Regions from separate parts of the Homo sapiens genome. Here all the other regions are linked to region 3. Evidence: promoter capture Hi-C in 16 types of primary human blood cells and fetal thymus (Javierre and others, 2016). All regions are on one chromosome and are shown on one strand. The core of a region is centred on a gene start or on the middle of the fragment in contact, and the rest is flanking DNA. Distances in the headings are between cores, read along the strand shown.

What was found. The method cuts DNA at HindIII sites, captures the fragments that hold promoters and counts their contacts. A CHiCAGO score of 5 or more calls a contact.
Region 1: a contact is called between a fragment that was not itself captured here and the fragment with the promoter of LDHAL6B in region 3, in 1 of 17 cell types (naive B cells). The highest score is 5.2, in naive B cells.
Region 2: a fragment that was not itself captured here is called in contact with the fragment with the promoter of LDHAL6B in region 3 in 1 of 17 cell types (M0 macrophages); the score reaches 5.2 in M0 macrophages.

Annotation. Positions count from the first base shown.
Region 1 is chr15:59,456,472-59,460,164 of GRCh38, forward strand. FAM81A (family with sequence similarity 81 member A) reads left to right here. Exons shown (of 9, transcript NM_152450.3): 2 at 2,079-2,175; 3 at 3,462-3,693. The coding sequence starts at 2,156. Among named protein-coding and RNA genes, the nearest start is that of FAM81A, 20 kb to the left of the region's middle. The HindIII fragment of the contact is 240 bases long and covers 1,776-2,015 here.
Region 2 is chr15:59,437,467-59,440,921 of GRCh38, forward strand. It overlaps FAM81A (family with sequence similarity 81 member A), which reads left to right and starts at 720. Exons shown (of 9, transcript NM_152450.3): 1 at 720-816. RefSeq lists a silencer at 418-947. The HindIII fragment of the contact is 883 bases long and covers 1,320-2,202 here.
Region 3 is chr15:59,205,453-59,208,900 of GRCh38, forward strand. LDHAL6B (lactate dehydrogenase A like 6B) reads left to right here and starts at 1,391. Exons shown (of 1, transcript NM_033195.3): 1 at 1,391-3,136. The coding sequence starts at 1,489. The coding sequence ends at 2,634. It overlaps MYO1E (myosin IE), which reads right to left. Exons shown (of 28, transcript NM_004998.4): 14 at 3,229-3,396; 15 at 1-33. The HindIII fragment of the contact is 11,888 bases long and covers 1-2,164 here.

The DNA.
Region 1 (3,693 bases), core at 646-3,145, 250 kb after region 3:
CATCAGTTCTTCCTGACCTAGCTGCTACCCAGGAAAAATCGACCCCTCTCCTGTTTTCCCTCCCCATGTGCTTTTTTTCACAGGGTTAGCCACTTAACCCATTGTTTTTGTTTGTTTGTATTTGAGACAGAGTCTCCTCTATTGCCCAGGCTGGAGTGCAGTGGCGCTATCATGGCTCACTGTAGCCTCAGCCTCCCTGGGCTCAGGTGATCCTCCTGAGTAGCCTCCAGAGTAGCTTGGACTACAGGTGTGCATCAATACGCCTGGCTAATTTTTGTATTTTTTGTAGAGATGGGATTTCGCCATGTTGCCCAGCTGGCCTCGAAATTCTGGGCTTGAACTCCTGGGCTCAAGCAATCCTCCAACTTTGGCCTCCCAAAGTGCTGGGATTACAGGCATGAGCCACAACCCATTGTTTTCTGGTTGGTTTAGATGACTTCTGCTGAGGGAAGGGATTTTAGTTTTTCCTAGTTAGGTTACTTAATTACCTAATAGATGCCAAATACATGTTTCTTAAGTTAGGCTATTCTGTAGATTAATATCTCAACTGAGATGTCTTACAACTTTAAAACTGTAAAGATTCTATGATTCTAAATAACAGCATTTCCCACACTGGCCTGATTTTATTTACGGTAGTCCCCCCTTATCGATGGTTTCACTTTCCACATTATCCAAGGTCAACCATGGTCAAAAATATTAAATAAAAAATTCTAGAAATAAACAATTCATAAGTTTTAAATTGTGTGTTGTTCTGAAATAGTGTGATGAAATCTTGTGCGATCCTGCTCCCTCCTGCCCAGAACGGGAATCATCCTCTTGTCCAGCATATCCACACCATGTATACCTGGCCCTGTGAGTCACTTAATAGCCATCTCTGTTATCAGATTGACTGTTGGGGTATTGCAGTGCTTGTGACCAAGTAACCCTTATTTTACTTCATAATAGCCCCAAAGTGCAAGAGCACTGTGCCTAATTTATGAATTAAACTTAATCATGAGTATGTATGTGTAGAAAAGAATAGTATATATAGGCTTCGGTTTCAGGCATCCACTGGGGGTCTTGGAATGTACCCCTGACAGATGAGGGAGGGCTACTGTAGTCTATATGGCAGAAATGCTTCTCTTTGACACTGAAGAACTCTTTGGGCACCATAGCTTGTTTGGCATGAATGACTTTTTTTTCCTTAAATGTAATTTGTTTAAAGTTCTTTGTCTAAGAAAATGAAATGTGCACATTTTGAAACTCCAAAAATAAAACACTAGAGAGATGACGCCAAAACAGTGATTTCAATCAGAAATGCTTTCTGAATCCAGCATCTAAATGAGAATTAATTATGGAATCAGATCATAGTTAGTAGGCATTCATTATTTTAAGGCAATTGATAGCAGTATTGAGGAACCTAAATAATAAAGTATTTTAAACATCCTCTAGTGTTTTTCACATTTCTAATGAGTTGTGGGGACCAAATGTTCCTTATATGCAAGATGAAATATGAATGATTGTATCTTATTATAAAGTTTTCAAGTTCTAATGAGGAATATCTTTCTCACTCCCTTGGTGGATAGATATCTTCCCACAAATCAGATCACATTGATCATGTGCTGTTTTATTTGAGATTAATTTAGAAATAAGTGCTCTTCATTTACCATGGAATTAGTAGTAAAAGTTTTCTGAGATCAAATTTACTGAGGTAGTTTCCTGCAAAATTCTACAGAGAAGTATAAGATTGGATAAGCCTATTAAACACTCTAGTTTCTGTTAAAAGTGGTTTCTCAAGCTTGAGATGCAGATTTGGAGTGAGGAAACTTCAGGAAACTCCATTGTACAGTCCCTGTTGGTCTGTCTTGCAAGGCTTAGCAATATTAATTTCAGAAGAGCTTTGATTTTGCTTGATTGCTTTTCTTCTTATTTGGAAACATATGCTGTTTATTTCATGTATAAGATACAAAACATTTAATAATATAACTTATCAGTGTTTCAACATAATTTATGATCCACTTAGCAACTTAATAATAAGCTTTTGAGGTTAAGTTCTAGATATAAACTGTTAAATAATTTAGTGCTTATTTTTTCAACAGATGTGAATTATTAAAAAGAAAATGGCCCAACGGAGCACTGTATTTCCTTCTCGTGTCACCAAGGAAAGGTATAATATATGGAAAATATGCATCTAAGGTATACTTTTCCTTTCCACTCATCCCATGGGGGCTGCTAGTGGGTGTGATAGTTACAAATCAAAGCTTGGGCTGTTACATTATCGGAGAATGGTTTTGTTCAAGGGCAAGAGAAACACTATTGTGTCCTCTAGCTTTCAATTTATAGGATACTGTGGACCACTCAGTGACCCCAAGAAGTAGAGATTTCACAGTAGTCCTACAGTAGACTTGAATTTCCTGTTGAGAGTGAAATATAACTCCGGGGGCTTCAGGCTAACATCCCTGTTAAGCTTTTTAAATCAGAAGTTGCAGATTAGGGGCCTATCGGCCAAAATTGGCTCATGAAGTACATTGCTTGGCCTAGCATGTTCTTAAATACTTTTTTTGGAGACAGGGTCTCACTCTGTTCCCCAGGCTAGAGTGCAGTGGCACAGTCACAGCTCACTGCAGCCTTGACCTCCTGGGCTTAGGTGATCTCCCACCTAGCCTCCTGAGTAGCTGGGACTATAGTTATGTGCCACCATGCCCAGCTAATTTTTAAATAATTTTTTTTGTAGAGATAGGGTCTCGTTGTGTTGCCCAGGCTGATCTTAAACTCCTGGGCTCAAGCAGTCCTCCCACCTCAGCCACCCAAAGTGTTGGGATTACAGGTGTGAGCCACTGTGCTGGCCTTAAATACTTTTTAAATGAATCGTTAACATTTTAAAATCAAGCGATTTCACATACAAGTCGGGATTTGCTAGCTTTTCTTGAGAAATATCAGATCATCTGGAAAAAGGGACCTGAAATCCCTGATGGTCACTCATGGGTGGAGCAGAACTGTGGCTCCCTTTAGCTGGGAAATGCCCTTTCCAGATCTCTAAATCCCTGACACTCCCTATTGCCTCATATGTAGTATGCTTCACTCATTTATGTCGCCTGCCTGACCCACGTAGGCATTGAGTTTGTAACCACTGTTTCAGAGAGGGAGGAGGAGGAGAGCATGTTAGGAGACTTTGTTAATGCACTTGATCTTGATAACATAGATTATATTGGGGAGACATCTCGGTGTACCCAACTCTGCCAGCCTCTTGCTCTTGGAAGTCATGGAGACCGCTTCTAAAACACTGAAGTCTGTGGGCATGATTATTTAAAGATCTTTCCCGGCTTGTGAAGAAAACTTTTTTAGGCAGAAATCCTGCCTCAAACCCTATTTAGCTTGTAGTTATAGATAATTTGTATTTCCAGACTTCTCTGGGAAGTTTTGAATCTGGCTTTAAACATTATTTTTTCCCAATTAACAACCCTCATGGTTCCCTTCTGCAGGCGAGTGAGAACCATGCCCCGACACAGCCAGTCCCTGACCATGGCACCATACTCATCTGTAAGCCTCGTGGAGCAGCTGGAAGACAGGATCCTCTGCCATGAGAAAACCACCGCCGCCCTCGTAGAGCACGCCTTTCGGATTAAAGATGACATTGTCAACAGTTTGCAGAAAATGCAAAACAAAGGGGGAGGTGACCGCTTGGCCAGGCTTTTCTTGGAGGAGCATATCAGA
Region 2 (3,455 bases), core at 511-3,010, 230 kb after region 3:
CCAGGACGCGCTGGGAGGGGATGAAGCTGACGGGAGAAGAAAGGGCTGGGAAGAGGAGGGGTGTTCGGGGTTCTTCTTCTCGTCGTGTCTGCTGCGATGAGACACGATCCTGGGTCCCAACTGCAGGTGTCAAGGCGATTCAGTAAATGACACATGGCAGCCCCGGAGGGTTCGTTCACCTGCACAGGTGGGGCGTCACCGTGGCCTAATCAAATAACTTCTCCCCAATTTGAGGTGGGGCGGGGGAGAGAACTATTTTTGTGGGAAAGCGGTTTAGTAAATAAGGTATATTGGGGCTCTAGAGAGAATTGCAGTGCCACCACCATGGCTATGATCTCCGTCAGGCACCATTTCAACACCTCTCCAAATCAACCATCCCTACAACAGGATTTATTTTCCAATGAGCGAAATCCCCGCCCGCCAACTCCAAGGCGCTTGGATGCGAGCTCTGTGGGAAACAGCAGCGACGAGCAGAGGCTATTTTGGGTGTGGGAACGAGGAGGGAGGAGGGGCGGCGCCGCCAGGCTGGGCGCGGGTGCGCGGGGAAAGCCTCCAGCTCGGGCTGCCACGGCAACCGCGTCCAGGCAACGCGCCCGGAAGCGGCTCCGGCGGCGCGCGGCGGCTCGCGCCCCCCGGGAGCCGCGAACCCGGCCGGGCCGCGCGCCGGGCCAGGCGGCAGGCGCGCGCTGATTGGACGGCGCTCCCCGCGGCGCGGGCCCGCAGCCGGGCGCCCTGCTCAGCCAGCGCCAGCGGCCGCCGCACCCAGCCGCGCCGGCGAGGACATGGGCAGCCGCGGCGCGCCCACCCCCCGCGCCGGTGAGTGCCGCGCTCTGGGAACCCCGGCCGGGCGGCCTCTGGGGCTGGGCGGCGGGAGCTCTCTGGGACGGCCGGTGACCTTGGGGCAGCCTCTCAGGAGATAGGCGTGGGGTAGAGAGAGCTGCGCGTGGCCCATGTGACATGCCGCGGGCGAGAGGGTTAACTGCATGTGACGCGAAGGGCTGAAGTTGGGCACAGAGCGCAACTGGCGTTGCATTTTCGCGGGGGCTGCATGCTAGCGAACCAACCGACGCCCGGAGGGACTGTTTGGGGGAGCTGGGGTGGTGCACGGATTGCCAGGGGTAAAGGCGAGTCAGCCGACCCACTACTCAGAGTGAGTGACCTTGGGTAGGTTAACCATCTGCTCTTCCGCCCCTTCGCTTTTTCTCATCTTTCAAACGAGAGGCTAGGGGGTCTTTGCAGTTCCAGAATGCTGTTGTGCCATCCTACTGCGAGCTGAGAAAGAGCCCTAAAGTACGGTTCTGCAGGTACCGGAGATGCAAAGCTTAACCATGTTTATTCTAGGAGGGGTTTCCATTAATTGGCTCCTAAAGTGGTAAGAAATGTTATCGTTGTCTGGAAGATTATGGAGCAAGCAGTCGGTGGTCCGGAGAATGGCTTCTTAAGATGCACAGGTTAAAACCTCTTTGGTGCCCTAAAGACATGAACAAAATCAGGATTAATGCTCCTAAGTTCTTCTTTCCTGTAGTTAATCTAATAGGAAACTTTGTATTTGAACAGGTAAAATCAAAACCCAATCGTGGCAGGCAGCAGCAAATTAAGTGAGTCATTTCTTCAATGTGCACGAGGTTTATGTGTGTGTGTGCGCGCGTGTGTGTGTGTGCGTGTGTGCGCGTGCGCTCTCGTCCTCAGCTCAAAGTCTGCGTACGGCAGTGTTGGAAATTATTTCATAGGAGTAACCAGAAATAATGCTAGAATGATTCGAATCCACAAAAGTGCAGCTCTCTCAGAAGCAAGGGCAAACATTTGCAACTTGCTTTTAAAATAAGAGGTTTGTAGAGTAAATATATTCTTTATTGAGAACCATCCCCAGATTTGCACATTGTATCTGCCTTCTGGGCCCTGTCACTGAATGCGCGTGTGTGTATGTGTGTGTGTGTGTGTTGGGGGGGGCGGGTTCCTTGGCACTTATAATATTTTTAGCGTTGACTGGTACTAAAAAGGACACTTAGGCCCCCTTCCATATCCACTGTCTATAAACTTCCCTCTTCCACGGAGGGGAATGGAGGACGTACCCTCTCACAGGTACCCCTGGTTGCCCCTTCTGACTTTCTACTTAAAGCTACCCTTGATTTTCATTCGAATCTGATTTCATCTGTATAAGAACGTGGGTTGGGAAGACACAGTTTCCAATGCTAATGAATAAGCTTCTGCAAGCTTGTTTACCTGAGGGCTTAATAACCTTTAATGTGTTACATGTTAGAAATCTGATAGCATACGGATAGAAAAATACTTAGTGTCCAGGAATTCAACCATGAAGCCCTACCAACCATTTAATGAGCCACACTACATGGTGCTTGGAAACGTTATTAGCGCATTATTCAGCCTCCTCTCTCTGCAGGCCACTAGGCTGTGTCACTCCGACCTGGCTTTAAATGTCTTGTTTCTTGTATCCTGCAGCCACACTCTTGCATTTTCATTTTTTATGTAGCTGAACCCACCTTCTCTCCCGAGCACCAGAGCCTGAGTGAACAACTTGCCGCAGAAGAGCCTTCTCTAGTGTCCTCCACCGTCTCACCAGAGTAGGGATGCTCTTCCGCTTCTCCTTAGTGCTGCCTCCAAACCAATGCACCATCACCAACCAAGTCTCCTCTCGGAAGGTAGTGCTATCTGCTTGTGCCCCTACCCTCCTTCTTATCTTCTGGTCCAGTGCTTCCCAAACCTGGGGGCTCCTCAGAATCACCTGGGACATTTTGAAAAACTTGGTCTTTAGACTCTCTCAGATATACCAAATTAGAATCATTGGGGGCTGGGGCAGGGTGGGGGAGTAAGACCTAAAAATCCCTACTTTAAAAACAAACCCCAAAAGGAGGAGCAGCAGGAGACGATGAAGAGAAGGAACAGAACTCTCTGGGCAATTCTGATGTACACCCAGGTACAGTGGGGATCTCTTCACTTGATGCCCCAAAAAAGGGATAAACAAACAAAAAACGTGAGCAGCCAGCTTCATTCTCTTCTCTGCTTTGTCTCTTGCCAGTGACTTTGGGTTTTGTGTTGAAGCTCTCTTAATTCTTTGACCTTGAAGTTCCTCAACATCTATCCCAGTAGCCTCAGTTTCCACTTTGCTTCAACTAACATCTTGGACTTGTTCAGTCTTGAACAAGACTAAACCTTTGAGATCTTGAACTCGGACTTCAGCCTACTTAGCTGATACTACCCACATACTGCTCTGGATTTTAACCATCGCTGAGGACCCTGGTCCCTTAAGCACTTGCTGTTCCAATCCTTCAGCCCCTCTGTGACTCTGTTTCTCCACTTGGGGCATGTAAGTTGCTGGCCATTTCCATTCTGTCTGGGATCCCAGAATCCTTTGTTTCAATGTGTTGGGCTTCTTATATTTCAGTCCTCAATCCAAAATCACCCCCGCTTGCCTGCTTATTCTTCTCCCAGCCTGCCAC
Region 3 (3,448 bases), core at 141-2,640:
CCTTTCACAAAAGCCATCCATGTCATAGGATACCTGGCCAAGAATGGAAAGAAATCGAATTTCATTGAACAAAATGTAATTAATTGAACAAAATCATTTATTGAACAAAAAATCTAATTTCACCAAACAAAAAACCAAAGCTGTCATGGCTACCCTCACCACAACATGTGGATTTCCAGATGTTGCATTTGGGATTTCATTGTGCACTGTCACAGGAAGGCTGTGCACGTCTTACTTGTTAGCTGACTTAGTGGGGAAGGCCTGCAGATGCTGATGAGTATCTGGCTGCCTGGATGGCCCAGCTGATCCGTAATCAGAACTCCAGCTCTCAAGTCCCCATACCCCTTCTTCAGTGGATCCATAGGGGTGTCTAAGTGACATACTCAATACTTTTCCTAAATTTTAGCTAAGCCAGAGCAAAAGTGAAGCCCCTCATGCTCAGTAATTCACTGCAATGAGCCATGTCATCTGAGGCTTTGCAGTTTCTCCCAGAAGTGGTATCAAAGTTGCACCAATCTGGCCAGAAACTCATGCTCAGATACTCTGTTTAACAAGAGATCAGCTGGGATGATGGATGAGACCAGGGGATTTCCATAGCACTAGGAAGTCCCCAAGACCACGACCTCAACTTAACTTTTTTATCATCAGCAGCCCCACACAGCCTGGCATCCAGTAGGCACCCAATACTGATGGGCTTTATAAGAACACCAAAAGTGCACTCTGGGCCTTGATTTATACTACCAGTAGGCATGGGGAGACAAGGAATGCCAGTCTGTGATTCCAGCAAGAGGCAAGACGAAAATCCATTTATTCAGCAGCTAATACATGTAGCAGGGTGATTCATTTTCCAAAAATATGCAGTAGTATGCTGAGATTTAGTGCTGGAGTGACTCCCAGCCGGCCCCTACCCTGCTGAAGCCCCAGCCGACTGTCCCAGGGTGGGTCCTGGCCAGGACTGGCACCAAGGCAGTGGAATCCTTTCAAAATAGGCCTCCAGCGCCATAGACCAGAAAGCAGGCGCCCAATTCTGGGACACTGGGAGATGGTGCAGGCAGCCACCAGTACGCAAAGCATAGAGCCCTATCCTTCCTGGCAGGGTCACGGTTCAGAAAACGTAACCTTATTTTCATCTGTAGTTAACAGAAGCATGTTTCCTCAGCATTCATATTAAAAATAAAAAACTAGTAATTCCAGGGATCTCGGTTAGCCTCTTAAGCATGTCAACTATTGATAATACTCTTAGCAAAACTAACTCCAGAAATCACTTGCTAGAGAAGCAGCCCTTCACTGCCTTAGTCTGAGCACCCACGGAAAGCACGTGTCGGAGACTCTGGCAAGGCCCGCGCAGCCGCAGTAGAGGGCCAGGGGGCGGGGCACGCGCACCTGCCGTAGAGTGCTGAAGGTCCTGCCAACGGCTCTCTTGGCGTCTCAACGTTCGGATCAGCAGCTTTTTTCCATTCTCTCTCTCCACTTCTTCAGTGAGCAGCCATGAGTTGGACTGTGCCTGTTGTGCGGGCCAGCCAGAGAGTGAGCTCGGTGGGAGCGAATTTCCTATGCCTGGGGATGGCCCTGTGTCCGCGTCAAGCAACGCGCATCCCGCTCAACGGCACCTGGCTCTTCACCCCCGTGAGCAAGATGGCGACTGTGAAGAGTGAGCTTATTGAGCGTTTCACTTCCGAGAAGCCCGTTCATCACAGTAAGGTCTCCATCATAGGAACTGGATCGGTGGGCATGGCCTGCGCTATCAGCATCTTATTAAAAGGCTTGAGTGATGAACTTGCCCTTGTGGATCTTGATGAAGACAAACTGAAGGGTGAGACGATGGATCTTCAACATGGCAGCCCTTTCACGAAAATGCCAAATATTGTTTGTAGCAAAGATTACTTTGTCACAGCAAACTCCAACCTAGTGATTATCACAGCAGGTGCACGCCAAGAAAAGGGAGAAACGCGCCTTAATTTAGTCCAGCGAAATGTGGCCATCTTCAAGTTAATGATTTCCAGTATTGTCCAGTACAGCCCCCACTGCAAACTGATTATTGTTTCCAATCCAGTGGATATCTTAACTTATGTAGCTTGGAAGTTGAGTGCATTTCCCAAAAACCGTATTATTGGAAGCGGCTGTAATCTGGATACTGCTCGTTTTCGTTTCTTGATTGGACAAAAGCTTGGTATCCATTCTGAAAGCTGCCATGGATGGATCCTCGGAGAGCATGGAGACTCAAGTGTTCCTGTGTGGAGTGGAGTGAACATAGCTGGTGTCCCTTTGAAGGATCTGAACTCTGATATAGGAACTGATAAAGATCCTGAGCAATGGAAAAATGTCCACAAAGAAGTGACTGCAACTGCCTATGAGATTATTAAAATGAAAGGTTATACTTCTTGGGCCATTGGCCTATCTGTGGCCGATTTAACAGAAAGTATTTTGAAGAATCTTAGGAGAATACATCCAGTTTCCACCATAATTAAGGGCCTCTATGGAATAGATGAAGAAGTATTCCTCAGTATTCCTTGTATCCTGGGAGAGAACGGTATTACCAACCTTATAAAGATAAAGCTGACCCCTGAAGAAGAGGCCCATCTGAAAAAAAGTGCAAAAACACTCTGGGAAATTCAGAATAAGCTTAAGCTTTAAAGTTGCCTAAAACTACCATTCCGAAATTATTGAAGAGATCATAGATACAGGATTATATAACGAAATTTTGAATAAACTTGAATTCCTAAAAGATGGAAACAGGAAAGTAGGTAGAGTGATTTTCCTATTTATTTAGTCCTCCAGCTCTTTTATTGAGCATCCACGTGCTGGACGATACTTATTTACAATTCCTAAGTATTTTTGGTACCTCTGATGTAGCAGCACTTGCCATGTTATATATATGTAGTTGGCATTTGGTTCCCAAAAAGTAGGATGTAGGTATTTATTGTGTTCTAGAAATTCCGACTCTTTTCATTAGATATATGCTATTTCTTTCATTCTTGCTGGTTTATACCTATGTTCATTTATATGCTGTAAAAAAGTAGTAGCTTCTTCTACAATGTAAAAATAAATGTACATACAAAAAAATGCAGTAGTATATACAATCTTTTGTTTTGCTTCCTTTGATAGTTAATAAATTCCGTTTGTTGAATCAATAAAATACGGCGAGCCATATGATTTGCTTCATGAGAAACCAGATCACAAACCCAAAGGCTTAAAACAGATAGACATTAAAATGGATATTGGCCATACCTTCCCAGCATAATGATGAATGATGAAGCCTTGGTTCCAACTGTTGAAGTGCTCATGACTCCCAATCTGCATCTGAAGTTTCTGGAGCAGCGTCTGATCTGCCCCCTCACCCACCGCATGCATCGTGGCGCACACGTCATCCAGGATGCTCATGATGCCAGGAGGGTTCTGATGGGAGCAAGAAGGCAAGGCCCTAGTCACTGACCTCTCCAAAACAGAC